Linked DNA regions of Homo sapiens: region 1 is linked to region 2. The links are contacts of gene promoters, found by promoter capture Hi-C in human tissues and cell types (Jung and others, 2019). All regions are on one chromosome and are shown on one strand. Each heading gives the region's core, a stretch centred on a gene start or on the middle of the fragment in contact. The rest is flanking DNA. Distances are from core to core; before and after follow the strand shown. Region 1 has its middle 22 kb from the start of KIRREL1. Region 2 holds the start of CD1D (CD1d molecule).

Region 1 (5,975 bases), core at 1,348-3,847, 210 kb before region 2:
GGCTGGGAAGCTTTATGTTCCACTCTAGAAAAGAAGACATGATTTCCCATCTTTCATAATCAAACCAACTCATACTTATTCACAGCTTGGCAGGCTTTCAGCACTGTGTGAGCATCAGTCAACTCTTCATTCGATTCATTCCCTGGCAAGCCTCTGCCATGAGCAAGAGGCAGGTCCTAAGACATGTTTACTGTGCAGTCTGTGCCTTCTAGAATCGTACAGACTATTAGGGGAGATAAGACAGAGGTGCTGCAAAAAGATTGTGTAAAACAACAGGTATTGAATGTGGTGAGGGTCAATTGAAAAACAACAGCTCTCTGATGACAATCAGCAGACAAAGAAAAGACTTGTTACATCAGAAGCTTTCCTTACCCACTTTCCAGCCTGGTGGATGTGGTCTTAGCCTTGGATATGGCAGATGCTTTAGAAAGAGGTCAGGGTTCTGACCACTGAATCAGGGTGAACTGGACAGCTATGGAGGTGAGAAGAGTGCAGTAGGAGAGAGTAAGGATGATACTCACCGTGTAGGTCTGTGAGCCAGTTCGACTGTTTCTAGCACATTTATAGAAGCAAGGAGAGCTGGCCTGGTGGGACAGAGCATAAAGATGGGGAAACTGTGAGGCTTTTTGCTCCTCTCTTGTAAGATTTCTGATATTAAAATCAAAACAAATATTCATTGCAAACCTATTTATATGTGTCATGCACTGGGTTAGGGACTTTCATTCTGTTATTTAATTTTCTCCTCACCGCAGCCCTTTGGATATGTTTTACAATTCCTACTTCCCAGATTATTAAATTGAGGCTCAAAGAAGGAAATGATTCATACACTGGTTAAGTGTTGAGCCAGAATATACAGCCAGGTCTTCTAAAACCTGCCTCCAAATTTCCTCCCCTTGACCATCCTCCACTAGGTGGCCATAGTGAGCCACTTGAAACACCAAATCCCATCATATTGTTCCTTAGCCTACAATCCTGCAGTGGCTCCTGGTGTTGCCAGGACAAAGTCAAAACCCTGGGTATGGCATACAAGACCTTCTACATCCAGCTAATTACATTTTCAATCTCATATTCCATCTAATCCCTGCCTCACTGTCTGCACCCAATGATAAGAAATGCTATCATTTATTGAGCATCTACGATGTGCCAGACACTGTCCCAAGCACTTCACGTGAATTGATTTGTTTCCTTCTCATGACAACCCTATGAGGCAGACACTATGATATTCCCCACTTTATGACTGGGGAAACTGATTCACCTAGTGGTTTAGTAATGTGCCCAAGGTCACATATCTTGCAGAGAGTCTGGGAGTCACACCCAGGCAGTTCAGCTCTTGAAAAGAAATGCTGCTCTCTTTGTGATTTCCACACACAACAAGCTGTTTCAAGCTTCCATGATTTGATTTATATTCTCCCTTCTACTTGAAATACCATTCCCTTCTTTCTTCCCCTGGATAAAAATCACTTATCTTTCAAGACTTGGTTTAGGACTTATCTTTTCAAAGTATTTCTGTTAGTCCATTTCACATGGCTGTAAAGGAATGCCTGAGGCTGGGTAATATATAAAGAAAAGAGGCATATTTTGATTCATGGTTCTGCAGGCTGTATAAGAAGCATGTTACTGGCATCTGCTCCTGGTAAGACCCCAGGAACCTTCCAATCATGGTGGAAAGTAAAGGGGAAGTCAGTGTATCACATGGCAAGAGAAGGAGCAAGAGAGAGAGGGGAGATAGTGCCAGGCTTTTTTAAACAACCAGGTCTCATGTGAACTCACAGAGTGAGAACTCACTCATTGCCACAAGGACAGTATCATGCCATTGATGAAGGATCTGCCTTCATGACTGAAACACCTCCCACCAGGCCCACCTTCAACATTATAGGTCACATTTCACCATGAGATTTGGAGGGGACAGAACATCCAAATCATATCTTTCAGACCCTGGCTCCCTAAATTTCATGGTTTTCTCACATTGCAAAATACAACCATCTTTTCCCAATAGTCCCCAAAAGTCTTAGCTCATTCTAGCATCCACTCAATCAAAAGTCCAAAGTCTCATCTGAGACTCAAGGCAGGTTCCTTCTATTTATGAGTCTGTAAAACCAAAAACAACCTATTTACTTCCAAGATACAATGGTGATACCAGTATTGGGTAAACATTCCACTCTGAAAGGGAGATACCAGCCAAAAGAAAGGGACAACAGGCACCATGGAGTCTGAAACCCAGCAGGGCAATCCTTACCTCTTAAAGCTCCAAAACAATCTTTGACTCCATGTCCTGCATCCTGTGCACATTGATGCAAGAAGTGGGCTCTCAAGGCCTTGGACAGCTCCACCCCTGTGGTTTTACAGGGTGCAGCCCCTGTGGCTGCTCTCACAGGTTGGAGTTAAGTGTCTGTGGCTTTTTCAGATTCAGGGTGCATGCTGCCAGTGGCTCTCCCATTCATGGGTCTAGAGGACAGCGGCCTCCTTCCCACAGCTCCACTAGCCAGTGCCCTAATGCAAACTCTGTGTGGGGGCTCCAATCCCACATTTCCCCTTGGCACTGTCCTAGTAAAGTCTCTCTGTGGGGGTTCTGTCCCTGTGACAGGCTTCTGCCTGGGCACACAGGCTTTCTAATACATCCTCTGGAATCTAGGCGGGAGCTGGCAAAACTCCTTCATTCTTGCATTTTGCACACCTGCAGGCTTAACACCATGTGGAAGCTACCAAGTCTTATAGTGACACCCTCCAAAGCAGCAGCCTGAGCTGCATCTTGGCCCCTTTGAGCCAAGGCTGCAGCTTGAGTGACTAGGATGTGGGGAGCTGTATCCTCAGGCTACACAGAGTAGCAGGGCCCTGCACCTGGTGTCCAAAACCATTCTTTCCTCCTAGGCCTCTTGGCCTGTGATGGGAGGGCCTGCCTTAAAGATTTCAGAAATGCCTTTGAGACCTTTTTCCCATTGTCTTGGATATTAGCACTTGATTCCCTTTTAGTCATGCTAATCCCTCTAGCAAGTGCTTGCTCCACAGCCAGCTTGTGTTCCTCTTCTGAAAATGCTCTTTCCTTCTCTACCATCCAGGGTTGTAAGTTTGCAGAAGTTTTATGCTCTGCTTCCCTTTTAATTATAACTTCTAATTTTAAGTCATTATTTTGTTCTCACATCTGATAATAGGCTGTTAGAAGCAGCCATGTGCATCTTGAATGCTTTGCTGCTTAGAAATTCTGCCAGATACCCTAGGTCATCAGTCTTAAGTTCAACCTTCCCTAGCTCCTGGGCCCAGACACAATGCAGCCAAGTTCTTTAAGGCATAACAAGGATGACCTTTGTTCTAATTCTCAATAAATTCCTTATCCCCATGAGACCTCATCAGCCTGGCCTTCACTGGCCATATTTCTATCAGCATTTTGGTCAAAACCACTTAACAAATCTCTAAGAAGTTCCAAATCCCTCTCATCTTCCTGTCTTCTTCTTAGCCCTCAAGCTCTTCCAACCTCTGCCTGTTACCCAGTTCCAAAACTGCTTCCACATTTTCAGGTATCTTTATAGCAATGTCCTACTTTTTGGTACCAATTTTTTTGTTAGTCCATTTTCCATTGCTATGAAGAAATACCTGAGGCTGGGTAATTCATAAAGAAAAGAGGTGTCTTTTGGCTCACAGTTCTGTAGGCTGTATAAGAAACATGGTGGCAGCAACTGCTCCTGGTAAGGCCTCGAGAATCTTCCAATCATGGTGGAAGGCAAAGTGGGAGCCAGTGTATCACATGGCAAGAAAGGGAGCAAGATAGAAGGGAGGAGGTGCCGGGTTCTTTGAAACAACCAGATGTCAGGTAAACTAATAGAATGAGAGCTCACTCATTACTGCAAGGACAGCACCAAGACATTCATGAGGGATCCATTCCCAAGACTCAAACACCTCCCACTAGGCCCACCTCCAACATTTCTTTCTTTCTTTTTTTTTTTTTTTTTGAGACAGAGTCTTGCCCTGTCACCCAGGCTGGAGTACAGTGGCATGATCTTGGCTCACTGCAACTTCCACCTCTTGGGTTCAAGTGATTCTCCTCCCTCAGCCTCCTGAGTAGTTGGGACTACAGGCACACGCCACCATGCCCAGCTAATTTTTTTGTATTTTTAGTAGAGATGGGATTTCACCATGTTGCCTAGGCTGGTCTAGATCCCTCAACCTTGTGATCTGCCTGACTCAGCCTCCCAAAGTGCTGGGGTTACAGGCATGAGCCACCACACCCGGCCTCTAACATTTCAACATAAGATTCCGATGGAGCAAAACATCCAAATTAGGCTAGAGTTTCAATTCTCTCTGGGGTGCATTGGTACAGACCCCTGTAAACAGCTCTATGTCATCTCTTCTGCCCATGGGTCTGTCTCCCGCTAGACTTAATGGCAACTTGAGAACAGACCATACCATATTCATCCTTATTTCTCCAATCTTAAAGAAAAAATCTTGACCCCACTTCCCTCTGTAGTTACCACCCATTTATTTCCTTCTTTATACAGCATAATGTCTCACACCATTGTCCATACTCATTGTTCCTCATGTGTTTCCTCACATTCTTTTTTGAACCCACTTCAGGCAGGCCTTAGCCCCCACTACCCCACCAGGAAGGTTGCAGTCTTTGACACAGCTGACCACTCTTTCCCCCTTGAAATTCTTTATCTCCTTGGTTTCCAGGACACCACCCTCCCCTGAGTTTGTCTCCACTCTCCTTCAATGTCTCCTTTGCTGGTTCCTTCTTGTTTCCCTGACCTCTAAAGATTGGAGCGCCCCCAATTTCAATCTCTGGACCTCTTCTCTTTTCTTATCCACACTCACTCACATCTTAGGTGATCTCATTCAGTCTCATGGCTTTAAATACCATCTATATGCTAATGACTCCCAAATTTATAACTTCTGCTCAGAATATTCTTTCCTGAATTCTACATTCTGTTATCCAACTATATAGTAGCACTCTCCACTAGGGTGTCTAAGAGATACCTGAAACTTAACATGTCAAAAAACAAGTTCCTGTTCTTTCCTCATGCCCCTCACCTGCTCCTACTGCTTTCTTTTCTGTCGCAACAGATGACACTGCCTTCATCCTTCCAGTTGTGCAGGCTGAGATCCCAGGCATCATCCTCGACTTTGCTCTTCCCATACCTCATGTCTAATCATCAATAAATCATGTCCATACTGTCTTCAAGAGAAATCCAGACCCCAGCTCTCATCCTAACCCAAGCCACTCTTCACGGATGGTTGAGCAGTCCCCCCCATGGCTCTCTGCCTTTGCCCCTTTCCCTTTGCCCTCTATCCTTGACATGGCAGCCAAAGTGTTCCTGTAAAAGCATAAGTCAGGCCATATCGTGATCATCCCTCTGCTCAAACCTTCCATTGGTAGCACATCTTATTGATATTAAAAGCCCAGAGTCGGCTGGGAGCAGTGGCTCACTCCTATAATCCCAGCACTTTGGGAGGCCGAGGCAGGTGGATGACCTGAGGTCAGGAGTTAAAGACTAGCCTGGCCAACATGGTGAAACCCCGTCTCTACTACAAATACAAAAATTAGCCAGGTGTAGTGACATGTGCCTGTAATCCCAGCTATTCAGGAGGTTGAGGCATGAGAATCGCTTGAACCCAGGGGGCGGAGGTTGCATGAGTGGAGATGGTGCCACTGCACTCCAGCCTGGGCAACAGAGCGAGATTTCATCTTAAAAAAAAAAAAAAAAGAAAAAAAGAAAGAAAGAAAAAGAAAAGCCCAGATCTCTACAGTGACCTCTATGGCTGCTAATTGCCGTTCTAACCACTGCCTTTCTGATCATTTACTATTCTCCTCACCCTCTGGGCTTGAGACATCTCCTGGTCTTTGCTGTTACTCAAACACATTAAATGTGCTCCTACTTCACAGACTTCACATTTGCTGTGGCCTCTCTAGAATACTTTCTCCAGATTTCTGGATGTCTAACTCCCTCACGTCCTTTAAGTTGTTATTAAATGTCACCTTTTCA
Region 2 (6,658 bases), core at 1,864-4,363:
CGCCAGTCCAGCTCCAGCCTCCACTGCGGCCGCAGCTGCTTGGGCTTCTGCAGCCGCCGCCACTGCTAGGGCCATCCCGCTGCTGGCGTACTGTCATATACTGCGCGGAGCCAGACCTCGGACTGCCATCGCCGCCACCTGCCCCACCCTCTGGCCCCGCGCCCCGCCCCAGGCTAGTCTCATTGGTCTAGTTCCCTCAGAACCGTCCTCATCGGCCGCCCTCCACTTTCACGGGGGCGGGGCCCAAAGTCGCTGGAGTTTTGCTCCTGGGACTGGACGTCCGAGAGGTAAGAGAGCTATCACAAGGTTTTCTAATCCTTATGTTTCTTTTAGTGGATCTCCAGGTTACTGTGGTTTGTATTATCAGGCTACTTACAAAAATGAATACCTCTTTAAATCAGGCCATTTTACAGCAAACTACGGTCCTTGATCACCATTATGCTCTGAATAAAGACTATGAGCAATTGCACTTGAATGCTGTTAAACTTTATTGACTGAACTTTGAATTGTTTGATTTTGATCAGGTTGGCTTGTGGAAAGTGCTATTAAGAAGAGTTCTTTAGTTCGTTGGTATTATCCTCCTGATAGCTATTATAAAAGTTTCCCTGATGTGTCCTCTCAAGAATCTTAAATTCTCATATGCAGCTATCCTTTGTACATTAAATGGTCTCCTTATGGTTAGGATAACAAAAACATGAAGAAAGCATATAAGATTCCAACTAATTTGACGTTGTGAATTGTGAATTCTGAACTGAAACCAAGTAAGTCCCTTATGATCAGGCTCCAAGGTTTTGGTCAGCCTCTCAAAATTGAGAGGCTGAAACCCTTTGACCAAAATTAACACATTTGCCCCTTCCCTCCAGCTCCTGGAAACCACTACCCTAACTCTGTTTCCATAAAATAGTAAACTATTTTAGAGTCCACATATAAGTGAGATCATGTAGTACCCACCGTGGGCTTATTTTAAGGCTCTGAGTAAATCACCATCTCTCTGTGCTAGGGTATTCTGAGTCAGTCTTGTTATAAAATATTTTGTTTAGGTAACATATTGCAAAACGTTTCATAATTCAATGGTTCCTTTCCCAGAAAAAAAGCAGTGAAAGTTCCAATAGCCAAAAAGTGTCTAACTCAACTGACCTTTGGGAAAAAATATCCGTATAATTCCAGATAGTCCTAACTTCTGAAGGTAATATAGCCTGGCCTCTGTTGATAAACAAACAAAAACAAAAAAACCACACACACACACACAAACCAGCTTCTTGTCTTTAAGTGTGCAAGAATGTTAGCACTTAAAATTTTTAAGATACACAAAAACTAAACAGAACTGTTCAAGTTTTTAAAGGGAGCTTGGAAATTTGAAGAAAGTAAAGTTAAAAATATTGCCCCATGAGTCATATAATTATTTTTCTTTTTATTTCTCATAGCTTCCCTCCTATCCATTATTTAGGCAATTTTGTATCCAAATTTAATAATTTAACACCTTATTTGTTACAAGAACACGTTACTATGTTATTTTAAGCTTTTTTGGGCAAATTACACATAATTAGATAGGCTGGGTTAGGGCTGTCTACAAGATCCCAGCCTAGAGTGTGGTGCAGTAGCCTATTTTCTCTAGGACTCTTGCTGCAACAGGATATGGGAGAAGGGAAACATTAACGTTAGCAGAATGGGAGGAATCAGATTATGGAGACATGATCCTTGCCTTCTGGCACCTCTCCAGCTGATTTAGAAGAGGACACAGAGGGAGACAGACATATGGCCATTTCTATAATTATAAACTCTGCTACATGCTGAGAGGATGGCTTCTCAAAGCCAGTTAGTGTACAAGCAGTGGAGGTTGGGACTGCCCTACTTCTCCTGCCTAGGGTCACACAGTCTGGCAGATCTGGAAAGACTTCCCTGAGAAAGTGACCTTGGAACTGATACCTTAGTGGAAATAACTAGGCATTGGGAGGGGGTGAGGTGAGGAGAAGGTCAAGAGCTTTCATGTAGAGGGAACTTTGTGCAGAGACCTTAGTCAGGAAGAGGTTTTGCATAGTGGAGGAACTGAAAGCTAACAGCCAGGCTACAGTACAGAGCAAATGATGCTGGGGTGTGAGGTGATGTCAAAAGGTAGACACCAGGGCTAGAGGGCGCATAATCTTGCAGGCCGTGCTAATGATTTTGTTTTCTACCCAAGAATGCTACTTCAGGAGATCAGTCAAAAGGTTAGGGTGATGGTGACGGTGGAAATATAGAAAAAGGAATTTATTCAAGAGGTATTCAAAAAGAAGTGAAATAGAGATGAGTTGGAGATAGATTGGATAAAAAGAGTGAGGGAGAGGGAGGTGTCAGGCTGCAGCCCAGGTTCTGAGTTGCCAAAGAGGAGTCTTTTCCTCCAGGTGAGCTAAGGCTTAGAACCACGATTTTTGGTCACTTTTTCTTATTTTCAGTGTGAGAAGTGGCGAGTTGGCTGTCCAGGTACACACTGTCATCTTACACTTACTGTTTAAGACAGAGGCGCATATTTGGAAAGTGAATGAGTCAGGAGCCAGAGGAGAAGGTATGCCGGCAGAGCCTAGGGCGGAGAGGAGGAAGAGAGTCTGGGGGCGCGTCCCCAAAAAGGAGACAGGGAAGACAGAGCAGAGGCCGGGGAGGGGAGAGCAAGGACCATGACAGGAGGAAAGAGAGGCTAGGGAACACTGAGGTGGAGGAATCCTGGGATATGACAGTTGTAAAGAATTGTAGCCAACCTAATCCAGTTCTCTCAATGTGCAACTGAGGAAATTAATTTTCATGCGTTTACTTTATTGTAAATGTGGTACTTGCACTTGAGAAATTTTGGAAAACATAAAGATGTAAAGCAAATTAAGATCACTCATAGTCTTTCCACCTAGAGACATGTACTGCTAAAGCAAGGACTTTGATCCTTTTTTCCCTTTGCATTTTTACCATGGTTGGAATTGTAACACAGACACAACCTTATGTCCTGCTTCCAAAACATAAATAATGGTTGTAAAGCGTCCCACACGTTGACCCAAAGTCTCCTTTGAAACAGGAAATTGAGACACGCCGGTTGTGAAACCTACTGAAGTGAGCGGCGGCGCCAGGATTCCTGGGACCCCGACCTCTTTGCAGCTCGCACAGCTAAGGGCGAGGGCGCCCTTCGGCAGAAGCAGCAAACCGCCGGCAAGCCCAGCGAGGAGGGCTGCCGGGGTCTGGGCTTGGGAATTGGCTGGCACCCAGCGGAAAGGGACGTGAGCTGAGCGGCGGGGGAGAAGAGTGCGCAGGTCAGAGGGCGGCGCGCAGCGGCGCTCCGCGAGGTCCCCACGCCGGGCGATATGGGGTGCCTGCTGTTTCTGCTGCTCTGGGCGCTCCTCCAGGCTTGGGGAAGCGCTGAAGGTGGGTGGAACGAGGGCGCTTGAGTGCACTCGCGGGAGGGCGGAGAGAGGGAGCTGGGTAGGGACGGGGAGGGCAACGCCTGATGGGGACTGGTGAGACCCGGGACGCACTGGCGCGATCTAGGTAGAAAACTCGCTGCTCCCTGGCTCCGGGGAGAGGCAGCGCGGCACAGAGTTCGCTGGCATCAGCCGCCTCCTGAAGCTCATCTCCTCTTGTTTCTTTCTTCCTTCTCTTTATGCTGGCTGCTCTCCCGGCCACTTGCTACACGCCTCCAATCTTCATTCTCTCCCAGTCCCGCAAAGGCTTTTCCCCCTCCGCTGCCTCCAGATCTCGTCCTTCGCCAATAGCAGCTGGACGCGCACCGACGGCTTGGCGTGGCTGGGGGAGCTGCAGACGCACAGCTGGAGCAACGACTCGGACACCGTCCGCTCTCTGAAGCCTTGGTCCCAGGGCACGTTCAGCGACCAGCAGTGGGAGACGCTGCAGCATATATTTCGGGTTTATCGAAGCAGCTTCACCAGGGACGTGAAGGAATTCGCCAAAATGCTACGCTTATCCTGTGAGCTGAGGGATAGGATCCTGGGCCGGTACCCAAGGGGAGAGAATGGCCACAGAAACTCAACTGGGAGACTGTGGCACCACCTGATGAGATTCTCTGCTCTGTCCACCCTCTTCTGATTTCCCTTCTACCTGGAGATGTCCCAGGCTTTGACTCCTCAAAGTGTCCCTCGTTCCTGCCTACTCCAGGTCACTTACTTTCCTTTCCCTGAAGTCTGGGTCCCCATTATAACCTGCACATCAATTTCTTCTCTTTCATCTCTCCCAGTCTTTTAAACCCTTCTTTGATCTTTCTCCATTCCTCTCCACAGATCCCTTGGAGCTCCAGGTGTCCGCTGGCTGTGAGGTGCACCCTGGGAACGCCTCAAATAACTTCTTCCATGTAGCATTTCAAGGAAAAGATATCCTGAGTTTCCAAGGAACTTCTTGGGAGCCAACCCAAGAGGCCCCACTTTGGGTAAACTTGGCCATTCAAGTGCTCAACCAGGACAAGTGGACGAGGGAAACAGTGCAGTGGCTCCTTAATGGCACCTGCCCCCAATTTGTCAGTGGCCTCCTTGAGTCAGGGAAGTCGGAACTGAAGAAGCAAGGTCAGCCTGCCTTCCTTACTCCCTGCATTCCACTTCAGGGCTCCAAACGGGCTTTTCCATTCCAGGGTTCTCATCCCTTTGAGCATTCAAAGAAGAGGAAGGCCCAGGAGGGGCTGGATAAGGGGTGAGGGTATTTATTCATTTCACAGACATCAACTGAGCACCTCTTGGGTTCTATGAATTCAATTAATGAACAACTGGGGGTGAAAGGTGTCAGGCAGTTAGTTAGGATCCCTGCTTGGTAGGGGGATGTTAATTAATGCAATGCTTGAAATAGGCTACATATGTTACTTCAAAACAAAGGGTGTTATAGGGGAACAGACAAGGGGCATTCATAGGAGGCTGGGACCAGAGAAGAAGAAGGAGTATCAGGGCAGGCTCCCTGAAGAAGGTGGGACAAATGGATTGAAAGTTGTGGGAGACTTCATTTCCAGAAGTGAACATGTCAGGGGCATACAGGAAGGAGGGAAATAAAGACCTGAAAGTCAAAAAGGATGATATGAGGCCTGGAGCCTCTAATGCAGAGTTTTCACTTTAAGATCCCCCCCATTCCCTTGTTGGATACAGTGAAGCCCAAGGCCTGGCTGTCCCGTGGCCCCAGTCCTGGCCCTGGCCGTCTGCTGCTGGTGTGCCATGTCTCAGGATTCTACCCAAAGCCTGTATGGGTGAAGTGGATGCGGGGTGAGCAGGAGCAGCAGGGCACTCAGCCAGGGGACATCCTGCCCAATGCTGACGAGACATGGTATCTCCGAGCAACCCTGGATGTGGTGGCTGGGGAGGCAGCTGGCCTGTCCTGTCGGGTGAAGCACAGCAGTCTAGAGGGCCAGGACATCGTCCTCTACTGGGGTGAGAAAAAGCTGGGCCCAAGCTGGAAATGGCAGGAGGTGGTCCTCAGGCATAGAGGGAGGCACTGGGGTGGGATGTGGCTTGATATACCCAGGTTAGAGGAGTTTCAGAGATGAGGCCCCCAGTAAAAGGATAGAGAGAGGGGTTCCAGACACAGGAAGGAGGGAAATAAAGACCTGAAAGTCTAAAAGGATTGAAATAGTGCTCTCTATATACAAGAAGAAACAAGACTACAAAACTCAGGGATCCAGAAGTAGGCAGCGAATAAACAATCCCAGGACGATTCATTCCTTGGCTTAAAGGGAGCCAGGCCTTTGGGAAGGCAGGTTAGCAAAGATAGCTTGGTTGGTTGAGTGCTCCCTGTGTAGGGGCCAATGAATCTGCATATAATATCTCATCTCATCATTCACAGTTTTCTTTGAAGCAAGTACTGCTCTTTTCGTTATATAGATGAGGAAATGAAGGCGGAGATAGGTTAACTGCCCGGAGCCACATAGAAAGTGGACGGGCTGGATTTAGATTCAGGTCTGCCTTGCTACAAAGCTGTTGCCCTTTCCCTCTATGCTACACTAGCAAATGTCAAAGTGGGCTGAATTTGGGATGCCCAGGCACTGAAAACAAGATGGGGAATCTAAACTTATGAGGAATAGAAATTGGGGTTTTAAGTGGAGGAGGAAATAAGAAGCACCTGGTACCCTCACACATGCCTAGACCAGGGGATTGGATATATGTAGAGAGGGGTCCTGTGCTGAGAGACAGCCTATGTTCCTCCAGAGCAGGTGGGAGCTACACCTCCATGGGCTTGATTGCCTTGGCAGTCCTGGCGTGCTTGCTGTTCCTCCTCATTGTGGGCTTTACCTCCCGGTTTAAGAGGCAAACGTAAGTCTCCCCTTTCCCTTTCCTCAACCTCTCTCCCCTTCATTCCTGGCTTCCCTTTTCCTTAATGGTCTTTCCCTTTCTATTCTCTCACAGTTCCTATCAGGGCGTCCTGTGACTCGCCTTGCCACATCTGTGTCTCTGGAACCCAGGACCTCTGGACCTCAGGTTCCTAAGACTTCAGTCCTGGTCTGCTCAGGAATTGAAGATGTAAGGAATTGAAGATAGGAGAGATACCTTGAAAAAGTAGAGAACAGTCATGAGGCAGCTTTCATCACACCCTTTTAACATTTATCTAAAAGAATTTAAATTCTTTTTCAAAAATTACACTACAAGTTTATAAGCCCAAATGGCTCTGTGAAATCAGAAGTGCAAAGGTGTGCAAACTTGTATCTGAAGACCTACCA

Evidence for each region. Contacts are between HindIII fragments. The study calls those that stand out against the background at their distance.
Region 1: a contact is called between a fragment that was not itself captured here and the fragment with the promoter of CD1D in region 2, in 1 of the 25 tissues and cell types used here (H1 embryonic stem cells).

What each region holds. Positions count from the first base shown.
Region 1 is chr1:157,969,034-157,975,008 of GRCh38, forward strand. No RefSeq gene overlaps it. Among named protein-coding and RNA genes, the nearest start is that of KIRREL1, 22 kb to the right of the region's middle. The HindIII fragment of the contact is 6,616 bases long and covers 1-5,905 here.
Region 2 is chr1:158,177,782-158,184,439 of GRCh38, forward strand. It overlaps CD1D (CD1d molecule), which reads left to right and starts at 3,114. Exons shown (of 6, transcript NM_001371762.2): 1 at 3,114-3,381; 2 at 3,674-3,940; 3 at 4,251-4,529; 4 at 5,097-5,375; 5 at 6,155-6,254; 6 at 6,348-6,658. The coding sequence starts at 3,321. The coding sequence ends at 6,369. It also overlaps the pseudogene ELL2P1. RefSeq lists a silencer at 2,123-2,172 and an enhancer at 3,585-3,644. The HindIII fragment of the contact is 11,336 bases long and covers 1-6,658 here.